3 separate regions of the Homo sapiens genome follow, and all the other regions are linked to region 3. The links are contacts of gene promoters, found by promoter capture Hi-C in blood cells and fetal thymus (Javierre and others, 2016). All regions are on one chromosome and are shown on one strand. Each heading gives the region's core, a stretch centred on a gene start or on the middle of the fragment in contact. The rest is flanking DNA. Distances are from core to core; before and after follow the strand shown.

Region 1 (3,739 bases), core at 371-2,870, 310 kb after region 3:
AGGCCAGGCGCATTGGCTCATGCCTGTAATCTCAGCACTTTGGAAGGTCAAGGCTGGCAGATCACCTGAGGTCAGGAGTTCAAGACCAGCCTGGCCAACATGGTGAAACCCCGTCTCTACTAAAAATACAAAAATTAGCCAGGCGGGGTGGTGGGCGTCTGTAGTCCCATCTACTCAAGAGGCTGAGGCAGGAGAATTGCTTGAACCTGGGAGCCGGAGTTTGCAGTGAGCTGAGATTGCACCATTGTACTCCAGCCTGGGCGACAGAGCAAGACTCCGTCTCAAGAAAAAAACAAAAAACAAAACAAAACAAAAAAACAAAGCGACCTGGATGGGAAGGAGCTGAAACTATATCCTATGAGAAATGTGTGAAAGACTTGATGCTTAGACACAGGAAAGAGGACGGAAGGGAGCATGACTAACAGGCCATTTGAGGTAGGCATTAATATCCTGTCATTTCCTAATGTGCCCGGGAGTCCACAGCCAAGTGGCAGAGCTGGGGTTTGTGTTCAGATGGGACTGATTTTAAAGCCTGGGCATTTCCCTCTTCAGTGTAGGGGCTGTCATAGGAGGTGAGTCTTCATCTGTGTGGTTCTAGAAGAGAGAACAGAACTAGTGTGTCCAGGAGGCAGGCCCTACAGTAACTACCTTGTCCACAAGGGAAAGGCTGCAGTGTGAGGCCGCAAGCTTCCTGTCACTGGAGGTGTCCAAGTGAATCTTTAAAGACTACCTGCTATGTGGCCGAGGGCTCAGGGCATTTGGCAGTCACTGTCACCTAGATTCTCCCGGGGCCCCGTCATTTTTGCTGCCCGGCGTCCTCTTGCTCTGCCTGAGTGCTGGCCTGACTGGCTCTCTCTTCCCACAGCTCCTCATTAAGCTGAAGACTCAAACATCCACGGAGTACTTCCTGGAGGCCTGTTCTCGAGAGGAGCGGGATGCCTGGGCCTTTGAGATCACCGGGGCTATTCATGCAGGGCAGCCGGGGAAGGTCCAGCAGCTGCACAGCCTGAGAAACTCCTTCAAGCTGCCCCCGCACATCAGCCTGCAGTGAGTGCCCCACTTGCCGGGCTCTGTGGCAGCCTCTCCTGCCTGTGTTGGGTGGGCAGGGGACCCTGCCCCTTGGGGGGGCTCTGTGCTTGCTGCACAGTCTGGCTGGTGCCACCACGGTGCTTCAGGGCCTTCAGCTGTTCCTGTCCTGTGTATATTATTTTCTCTGCTTGGGAGTGGCCCTACCTACCTGCCCCATTCCTATGGGATCTCTCGTGGCTCTTGCCACCTCTGCACACCTCCATGACACAAGACCCCCATTCCATTTCAGCCAGGGTGCTCAGGGCTGTGTCACAGCTCCCCCAAAATCTCGTCTTAGTCTGTTTTCTGTTACTTATAACAGAATACCTGAAATTGGGTAACTCATAAGGAGGGATTTATTTCTTATCATTATAGAGGCTGGGAAGTCCAAGGTTGAGGGGCTGCATCTGGTGAGGGCCTTCTTGCTGGTGGGAGTTCTCTGCAGAGTCCTGAGGCAGTGCAGGGCATCACACAGTGAGGGGGCTGAGCATGCTAACATGCTTGCTCCGATCTCTCTTCCTCTTATAAAGCCACCAGTCCCATTCCCATGATAATTCATTAATTCATTTAACCCATTAATCCATTCACAAGGGCAGAGCCCCCATGACCCAATCACCTCTTAAAGGCATCACCTCTCAATATTGCCACATTGGGGATTTTCAACATGAGTTTTGGGATAAACATTCAAACCACAGTAAATCTCCACCAACCTCCCAGGCAAAAGAACTGTTAACACCCATCAAAGATGTATGAATCCATTCCTGGGCTCACAAAAACTCCCCACCAGGCACTGAAATCTTGACTGTACACCTCCTATGGGTCTAGGTGGGTGCAGGGAGGATCAGCTGCAGATAAAGGTGGGTAGGCAGGTGGGTTTAAAGATAGTTGGAAAAGTAGCTGAGGGGGTTTGGACTTAATGCAGGGGATCACAGAGAACCATGTGGGCTACTGTGCACTCTTGGGGCTTTTTTGTTTTTCTTTTTTGGGGACAGGGTCTCACTCAGTTGCCCGGGCTGGAGTGCAGTGGCTCGATCATGGCTCACTGCAGCCTTGACCTCCTGGGCTCAAGTGATCCTCCCACCTCAGTATCCCAAAGCACTGGGATGACAGGTATGAGCCACTGTGCCCAGCATACACTCTTGTTTGTAAGTTAAAAGTCACACCTCTTTGGTTTTACTACAAAAGCAGTGTGTGTCTGGCATAGAAATATAAGAACATTTAGATAAGGAGAAGAAAAGAAATGTCTGAAAATCCTGCCTCTCAAATTTGGAGGCATAACTGAACACCCTGTTCTGTGGTGAGGAGGTATAAACAAACCTACCTGCAAGGGGAGCTGAGAGGCAGGAGAAAGAGGCTGACAATTCCAGTTTCTCACAAAGAGGCATTTAATAGGGACTTACAAACAGAAGTGATGTCCCTGCTGGCCTAGAGACAGCGAATCACCACACTTGTCTTCCAGAAAATATCCTTTATATAGCAAGCTTTTTTGGGAAAATGTGCAGCTAGTGGTGCCTCAGACTTTCTTGTGAAACCTGTGACCACTGGGGAGGTTAGATAAACATCTTTATGAGGGGTGAGCCGTGCTATGGGAACACCGTGGTATGCAGGAGTCAAACATCCATCATCAGGCCAGGCACGGTGGCTCACACCTGTAATCCCAGTACTTTCGGAGGCTGAGGCAGGCGGATCACTTGAGGTCAGGAGTTCGAGACCAGCCTGGTCAACATGGTGAAACCCCATCTCTACTAAAACTACAAAAATTAGCCAGGTGTGGTGGCAAATGTCTGTAATCCCAGCTGCTCCGGAGGTTGAGGCAGGAGAATCACTTGAACCTGGGAGGCGGAGGTCACAGTTAGCCGAGATCTTGCCACTGCACTCCAGCCTGGGTGACGGAGCGAGACTCTGTCTCAAAAAACAAACAAAAAACAACAACAACAAAAATCAATCATCATGGCGGCTTCACTTCAAGATGGCATCACTCTTGCCATTCAAAAGGCTGCTTTCCTACACCCCTTTTCTTTGTGATGTGTGTCACACCATTTGCCACTTGCTTTATACCCTTAGCAGTGACTCAGGACCCTCCCTTATACCTGCCCGCGTGATGAGGGTTCCCTCTCCTTTGCCTTCCCTTCCATGTAGTCGCATTGTGGACAAGATGCACGATAGCAACACCGGAATCCGTTCAAGCCCCAACATGGAGCAGGGAAGCACCTATAAAAAGACCTTCCTCGGTGAGCCTGTCCCCCAGGGCCGGGCTGGGCAGTCAAGCTGGGACATGGTGATGCAGGGCTCAGCTGTGTGCTTGACCGCCCTGTATTGAGGTCAGAGCTGCCTGCTGGGCAACAGGCTAGCCTGAGATGGCCATGTGTGGGTGTGCAGCCACGGCTCTATGCAGCAGGTGTGGCCTTCAGTCTGCTCTTGCGTAGAGCCCTGAGGCTGCCCAGAGGGCCAAGGTCAGTGAGGTCATTGGCCACACACCCCAAGGACGCTGGTCCATCACCCATCGCCTGACTGGTGCTGCCCTTGGCCAGGCTCCTCCCTGGTGGACTGGCTCATCTCCAACAGCTTCACGGCCAGCCGTCTGGAGGCGGTGACCCTGGCCTCCATGCTCATGGAGGAGAACTTCCTCAGGCCTGTGGGTGTCCGAAGCATGGGAGCCATTCGCTCTGGG
Region 2 (3,762 bases), core at 885-3,384, 270 kb after region 3:
GTATTTCCTTCTGCGTACTCACTACAATTTCACATCATTTTGTGACTTTGCTCACTTGTTTATTTTTTGCCTCCCCACCATGGACTGCAAGTTCCACGAAGGCAGGATCATGTCTGTCTGTTCATGATTGTAGCTTCCCAGCACAGCATTTCACACATAGGTAGGCACTCAAGAAGTACTTTGGGATTAAAGATGAAAGAAAGGTCTATTATATAAGTCACAACAGGATGCCAGCCATCTGCCAGGTGCCTTTTTATTGTTGTTGTTTGTTTGTTTTTTTGAGACAGGGTCTGGCTGCATCACCTAGGCTGGAGTGCAGTGGTGCAATCATGGCTCGCTGCAGCCTTGGCCTCTGGGTTCAAGTGATTCTCCCACCTCAACCTCCCATGTAGCTGGGACTACAGGTGTGTGCCACCAAGCCTGGCTAATATTTTTAATTTTTTGTAGAGATGGGGTCTCACTCTGTTGCCTAGGCTGGTCTCAAATTCCTGGGCTCATGTGATCCTCCCATCTCAGCCTCCCAAAGTGCTGGGATGACAAGCGTGAGCCACAGCGCCTGGCCTGCCTGGTGTCTTCTCTGCCATTTCTCTCCTCTCCTCTCTCCCTCCAGAGGGCAGCTCACTGCACAGAGGTCTGGGAACCTGCTCTCTGGGCTGGATTCTGACCCTATGGGAGGAACTTGTGGAAGGACTGGGCGTGGCAGTGAGATTATCGGGTGCCAGATGGAGGCTGGGAGCAGACTAACAGTTCCCTAATGCCCACTCTGGTGTCCTGAAGAAACTCTCCCCTGCCTGGTCTCCATATGGAAAGGGGCTCCCTCGGCTGAACCATGCAAGGCTGCAGAAGACTGGGTACCACCTAGAGGGGGCAGCTGTGAGAGAGCCAGGAAGGGGTGAGAGCTGGTATTGCAGGGCCAGGGAACAGATGTGCTAGTTTGAAAGGAGGACTTTGTATTCTCCCTTACGGCTGCAGAAAGCAACGAATAAAAGCTTGATATGTTGCTGGGCTAGGCCTGGCTACCCCAATATCCCCCAGCTACTCCATGGTATAGAGTGAACTCTCCCCTCCCACACAGGCGCCTACTGGCCTGGCATCCTGGGCATTTGCCCAGGCTTCTTGGAGGAGGTTGGCCAACCTTGGCTGGACAGTAGTATCCTGTGACATTCACAGATACTGGCAAGAAGCCCCAAGACTCCAGGCAAGAATGGATCAGTAGTTTCCAGTAAAGAGGCTTCTGTGGGAAGTAGAGCTACGGTGGCATTTCTGTGCCTCGGGAATCAGCCCTAAGGGAAGTAAGCCCTCTGGGAGCCAGAGAAGCTCACAATTGCTTTAGCAACACATCCCATCAGACCTGCCTTGCCTCCCCATCCTCAAAAGCAAATACTTAACCATCCGCAGTCTCCAGTAGACTGCCTGCTAAGCTCTTTTTCCCCCTTATTTGATGCAAAAATGTGTGGTCAGTGAACTGTCCTAAGGACAGGACAACACCTCCACCCGCTGGCACCACCAATGGACGTGGCCAAGGACACAGCGGGGTGATGCTTATGGGATGGGAGGCCTTGGGCAGAGTTGAAGGCAGAAAGGTCCTGTTAGTCACCCAGGGACTGGGAGTGCAAGACAGAGAAAGGGAAGGAGTGACATCCAGAAAAGGATGACTTGAGGCAAGCGTTCTGGAGATTCTTTGTAGGTGCTCTGTTATTGCTTCCAGTGACCTCCCTGGGACTTTGATAAATAAAAGAAAACTTGTATGACCATAATGAGTTTTTAAACAAAGCACAGTGTTACAACACTCCAATGACTTTAGCCGCCATACCCTGTTGTGGCCACTGCCCTGTGGGCATCTCAGACAGGGGCTGTTGCTGCCTGCTATGGTTCGAATGTCCCCTCCAAAATTCATGTTGAAACTTAATCCCCAATGTGGCAGTATTGAGAGGAGGGGCTTTTAAAAGGTGATTGGATCATGAGAGCTCTGCCCTCATGAATGGGTTAATCCATTCATAGATTAATGGGTTAACGGACTAACCGGCTATCATGGGAGTGGAGCTGGTAGCTTTATAAGAAGAGGAAAAGGCTGGGCGTGATGGCTCAGGCTTGTAATCCCAGCATTTTGGGATGCTGAGGCAGGTGGATCACCTGAGGTCAGGAGTTTGAGACCAGCCTGGCCAACTTGGTGAAACCCCATCTCTACTAAAAATGCAAAAATTAGCCAGGCATGGTGGCGGGTGCCTATAATCCCAGCTACTTAGGAGGCTGAGGCAGAAGAATTGCTTGAACCCAGGAGGAGGAGGCTGCAGTGAGCCGAAATGGCACTATTGCACTCCAGCCTGGGTGACAGAGTGAGACTCCATCTCAAAAAAAAAAAAAAGAGAGAGAGAAGAGGAAGAGAGACCTGAGCTAGCACATTAGCATGCTCACCCCCTCAGCATGTGATGCCCTGCACCACCTCAGGACTCTGCAGAGAGTTCCCACCAGCAAGAAGGCCCTCACCAGATGCACCCCCTGGACCTTGGACTTCTCAACTCAATAACAGTACAAAATAAATCCCTTTTCTTTATAAATTACCCCGTTTCAGATATTCTGTTATAAGCAACAAAACACGGACCAAGACACTGCCTGTAGGGTTTGGTGTTCTCTCTGCTGTCATCATTATTCCTTCTTCCCACCTCTATGCATGAACAGGTCTGTTACCTGAAACATTCTTTAGTCCTCCAAATGTTCTCATGGTCTGTGGTTTGCTTAGAGTCTAGTGGCTCTCGAACTTTAGTGTGGTTTCATAAACTGACCTTCTTGATAAAATGAATACTCCCAGGCTCCCATCAGCGATTCTTCTCTGATATAGACAGTCCTTCAGCCCCATTTTAAGAAACACTGATTTAGAAATCACTGTGCAAGTGGTTAGTTTCTGTTTTTTCTATTTGAATAATACTGCAGCAAACACTTTGTAGAAATGACTTTGTTCTAACTGTTTTCTTTAGCTACTTCCTTAGAATTAGGATTATGGAATCAAAGGATAGGAACTGTTTTGTAGGTTTTGCCAAATTAGCATCCAGGGAATTTGAACAATCAAACATTGTTTTATCATTTATATTAATTTTTATAACATTATAAAATTCACTGAAATTGCAAATTCAAGATACATGGTGGGGCTGCCTATTTTTCTATGTGAAGTATTGTGTGTAAACTCTCTGCTCATTTCCTTTGAGTACTTATCAAAAAGGAGCAGGATACTGGCCTTTTATAGTTAGATCTGTTCTTTAGCTATTTTGGATAGAAAGCTTAATTTGCCACATATATTTCTCCCCCATCTGTGGCTTTCATTTTTGTGTTTGCTTTATTACATTCTGTGGCACAAAAGGCTTTTAAAAACACATTTAGATCCGTCCATCCTGTCTCTGATATCTAATTTCATCAATAGTCAAAATGTTTTCTTCTCATCACAGTGGAAACACATTTGCTTTCCCATTTTCTCTGGCTTTTTATGACCCACTTAGACGATATTTGTTAAACAGTGATTCTTTCTTGTAGCATTGTGTTGATGCTTATTCATCTTATATCAAGTCTTTAAATAGCTTGAATTTGTTTCTGTAGAGTATGTCTCTTCTATTACCCTGGCCAACTTTTCTTGTCTTTACCCCAGTGAAATATAGTGATGACTGCTTTTTTAAGTTTACCCTCCTCCTTCTTTTTCCCCCACAAAAATTTTTTTGATATTTTGTCCATTCATACTCCCGATGAGTTTTAATGGGTTTGTTGTTGTTGTTG
Region 3 (3,894 bases), core at 1,134-3,633:
CTCTAGCTGCTCCTCCTCCTTCTACCCCCGTAATCAGAACTCAGCTCTTCCTGTTTGTTCTCCTGGCTCCCATACACCTCTTAGGCACAGATTTTTTAGAATTTCACAATACACACATTTCCTTCCCTCAAAAGGGGGAAATATATTTAAATTTAAAACAAGGGGAACAAACAAAACAACTGCAGAATGAAAATAGAACTACTGAGATCATAAAAATACGAATCCAACAGTTTTTCTAAACTGAGAGATTAATATTTTAAAAATGAGATTCTCAAACATTAAGACATGCCAGGCCAAGCACAGTGGCTCACGCCTGTAATCCCAGCACTTTGGGATGCTGAGGTGGGAAGAACACTTGAGTCTAGGAGTTTGAGACCAGCCTGGGCAACATGGCAAAACCCCATCTCTACCCAAAAAATGCAAAAATTAGCCAGGCACGGTGGTATGCACCTGTAGTCCCAGCTATTAGGGAGGCTGAAGTTGGGGGATCACTTGAGACCAGGAGAGAGAGGTTGCAATGAGCTGTGATCATGCCACTGCACTCCAGCCTGGGCAACAGAGTGAAACTCTGTCTCGGAAAAATAAAAAAAGACATACTGGGTTTTCTGAGACTCCAGCTAGATACATATTATGGCCCATTGTTGTGCACATCTTAAAATAATAGACAGATTAGAACTCAAGTGGTCCACCCAGAACTACAGAGTTAACATGTAGGATCGTCTAAGTTCTCTGTCTACCTCTATATATTTTTTCTGCCTACTTTGAAACTACTGACTTTTCTACTTGTGTTGAGATAAAGCTCACTGTTTATAGTATTACTAACTTAAGAAGACTTAGAAATTTTGTTTTTCTTATACGATTCAGCCAGTTCAAGCTAAAATGTTAACATTAAAAACCTAACTCTAAACTCATTTGAAACTGAATAAAAGGATAAAAGATTTTTAAAATAAAACTGCCATCGAACTACCTTACCCAAAAATTTTGGCTCACAGCCTTCATTAGATTACCTATTGGGACAAATAAAATTTAGCCATGTGAACTAACAGGTCCCAATTTTTTCCAAAAATAATTTAGATCCAACTATCTTTTATAAACTGGTGAGTTTGTATTACTATCTCATGACTAAAATTCTAAAATGAAAACTATAAGGGCCAGATGAGGTGACTCATGCCAGCAGTCCCAGCACTTTGGGAGGCCAAGGTAGGAGGATCATTTGCGCCCAGGAGCTCAAGACCAGCCCTGGCAACATAGTGAGACTCTGACTCTACAAAAAAAAAACTTTTTTAAGTTAGCTGGGCATGGCGGCACGCACCTGTAGTCCCAGGTACTCAGGAGGCTGAGGTGGGAGAATCACTTGAGCCTGGGAGGTCCAGGCTGCAGTGAGCCATGGTCATACCACTGCTCTCTACCCTGGGCAACAGAGTGAGGCCCTGTTTCAAAAGACAAATCAAAAAATAAAGGTATAAGATCTCTATTTGTGCATATATATGTGTGTTTAGATGTGTTTACATATATACATGTAATATGTTATATGTTGTATCTACATGATACCCAATTGACTTATAGATAAATGAGCACTCATAAATTAGTAAGCCCAAAGGTTTTCCAAGTTCACATGACTTAAGTAATTCTTTAATAAATAAACTGGCTTTAAAATTATTAGTAAAATAAATATTAAAATGTCTTCAAAATTGTCAACATACATATTTGCCTAGATTTATGGTCAGATTTATACTTGTCTTATTAAATATTTTACAGGGTCAGGATTTGGCACAAAGGTAAAAAACTATGAACCCAGCCAAAACCAAAATAATCTTTGTGTGATTTTTTTTATAAGTAAGACTAATTTAATATTGTTGGTTTAAGAAATACAGCTAAACCTTCTGAGTTATCAACAAAATACCCATGTATTTAACTTTAAATTTCTTGCTTAGGTAAATATCTGACATTCACAGGCTATAAAAATGGTTAATAGAAAAAAACTTAAAAAACTGAGCACAGGCCAGGCATGGTGGCTCATGTGTGTAATCCTAGCACTTTGGGACCCTAAGGTGGGAGAATCACTTGAGCTCAGGAGTTTGAGACCAGCCTGGGCAACATAATGAGATCTCATCTCCATTTAAAAAATATATATATATTAAATTTTTAAAAAAGCTGGGCACAGTGGTTCATGACTGTTATCCTAATGCTTTAGGAGGCCAAGGCAGGTGGATCATTTGAGATCAGGAGTTCAAGACAAGCCTAAGCAACATAGTGAGACACTGTCTCTACAACACAGTGAGATACTGTCTCTACAAAAATTTTGAAAATTAGTCTGGCATGGTGGCACTTACCTGTAGTCCTGGCCACTCAGGAAGCTGAGAAGGGAGGATTGCTTGTGCCCAGGAGTTGAGGTTACGATGAGCTGATCATGCCACTGCATGATAATAATTTATTACATGGTAAATTATTTTCCTAAAGCAAAATGACAGGTTAATTATAAAAGAGAAAGGGTAGGGCAAAACAAAAGTTCAAACATGTCATAAATAGTCTACAGAAATCATAATAGGCCTGGCGTGGTGACTCATGCCTGTAATCCCAGCACTTTGGGAGGCTGAAGTGGGCGGATCACAAGGTCAGGAGTTCGAGACCAGCACAGCCAAAATGGTGAAACCTCATCTCTACTAAAAATACAAAAAGTAGCCAGGTATGGTGGCGCATGCCTGTAGTCCCAGCTACTCGGGAGGCTGAGGCGGGAGAATCACTTGAACCTGGAATGCGGAGTTTGCAGTGAGCCAAGATAGTGACACTGTACTCCAGCCTGGGCAACAGACTCCATCTCAAAAAAAAAAAAAAAAAAAAAAGAAATTATAATAAAGTTCTTTAAAATTTTTTTAAATGTATATGTGATTAAGTTGGCTATAATCAAAAAAAAGTTATAAGTGTTTCTAAAGATTGAGATTTTGGTCCTCTATGTTAAAATAACATTGTCTTAAAGTATAAATTTGCTCTTAGTGAATTACAAGAGCTTTTGATTTTAAATTCTACAATCTATTTCTTTTCTAAAACTTCTCAAATTTATATCTCAAAAAATTCTACTTGTGCTATACCTCGCTGCACATGATTCCCAAGTCATGAATCGTTGTTGTTCGTTCTTTATACCCTTAAAAAGATACATGTTTTTCTTGGTTGAAATGATAATCCTCTCCTTCAACCTTTTTGTCAACTTCTGTAATCTTTGACTTTTTTTTTTTTTTTTTTTTTTGAGATGAAATTTTGCTCTTGTCACCCAGGCTGGAGTGCAGTGGCAAGATCTCCGCTTACTGCAACCTCCGCCTCCCAGGTTCAAGTGATTCTCCTGCCTCAGCCTCCGAGTAGCTGGGATTAGAGGCATTCGCCGCCGTGCCCAGCTAATTTTTGTATTTTTAGTAGAGACAGAGTTTCATCATTCTAGCCAGCCTGGTCTTAAACTCCTGACCTCAGCTGATCCACCCGCCTCGGCCTCCCGAAGTGCTGGGATTGCAGGCATGAGTCACCATGCCCAGCCAACTTCTGTAATTTTTTTTTTTTTTTTTGAGATGGAGTCTTGCTGTGTCACCCAGGCTGGAGTGCAGTGCCGCGATCTAGGCTCACTGCAAGCTCCGCCTCCCAGGTTCACGCCATTCTCCTGCCTCAGCCTCCCGAGTAGCTGGGACTACAGGCGCCCGCCACCACGCCCGGCTAATTTTTTGTATTTTTAGTAGAGACGGGGTTTCATCGTGTTAGCCAGGATGGTCTCGATCTCCTGACCTCGTGATCTGCCCACCTCGGCCTCCCAAAGTGCTGGGATTACAGGCGTGAGCTACTGTGCCCGGCCTTCTGTAATCTTTTTCTCTGGTTCTAACTCTGGTGTGGCCTGATGCTAAAATGTTTATC

What was found. The method cuts DNA at HindIII sites, captures the fragments that hold promoters and counts their contacts. A CHiCAGO score of 5 or more calls a contact.
Region 1: a fragment that was not itself captured here is called in contact with the fragment with the promoter of RDH12 in region 3 in 1 of 17 cell types (naive B cells); the score reaches 5.0 in naive B cells.
Region 2: a fragment that was not itself captured here is called in contact with the fragment with the promoter of RDH12 in region 3 in 15 of 17 cell types (naive B cells, total B cells, naive CD4 T cells and 12 more); the score reaches 10.9 in naive B cells.

Annotation. Positions count from the first base shown.
Region 1 is chr14:67,392,710-67,396,448 of GRCh38, reverse strand. PLEK2 (pleckstrin 2) reads left to right here. Exons shown (of 9, transcript NM_016445.3): 3 at 866-1,047; 4 at 3,208-3,299; 5 at 3,600-3,739. It also overlaps a transcript of GPHN not described here. Among named protein-coding and RNA genes, the nearest start is that of PLEK2, 18 kb to the left of the region's middle. The HindIII fragment of the contact is 1,862 bases long and covers 690-2,551 here.
Region 2 is chr14:67,433,574-67,437,335 of GRCh38, reverse strand. It overlaps a transcript of GPHN not described here. Among named protein-coding and RNA genes, the nearest start is that of MIR5694, 6.5 kb to the left of the region's middle. The HindIII fragment of the contact is 2,286 bases long and covers 992-3,277 here.
Region 3 is chr14:67,700,375-67,704,268 of GRCh38, reverse strand. It overlaps RDH12 (retinol dehydrogenase 12), which reads right to left and starts at 2,383. Exons shown (of 9, transcript NM_152443.3): 1 at 2,334-2,383. It also overlaps a transcript of GPHN not described here. The HindIII fragment of the contact is 4,699 bases long and covers 1-3,894 here.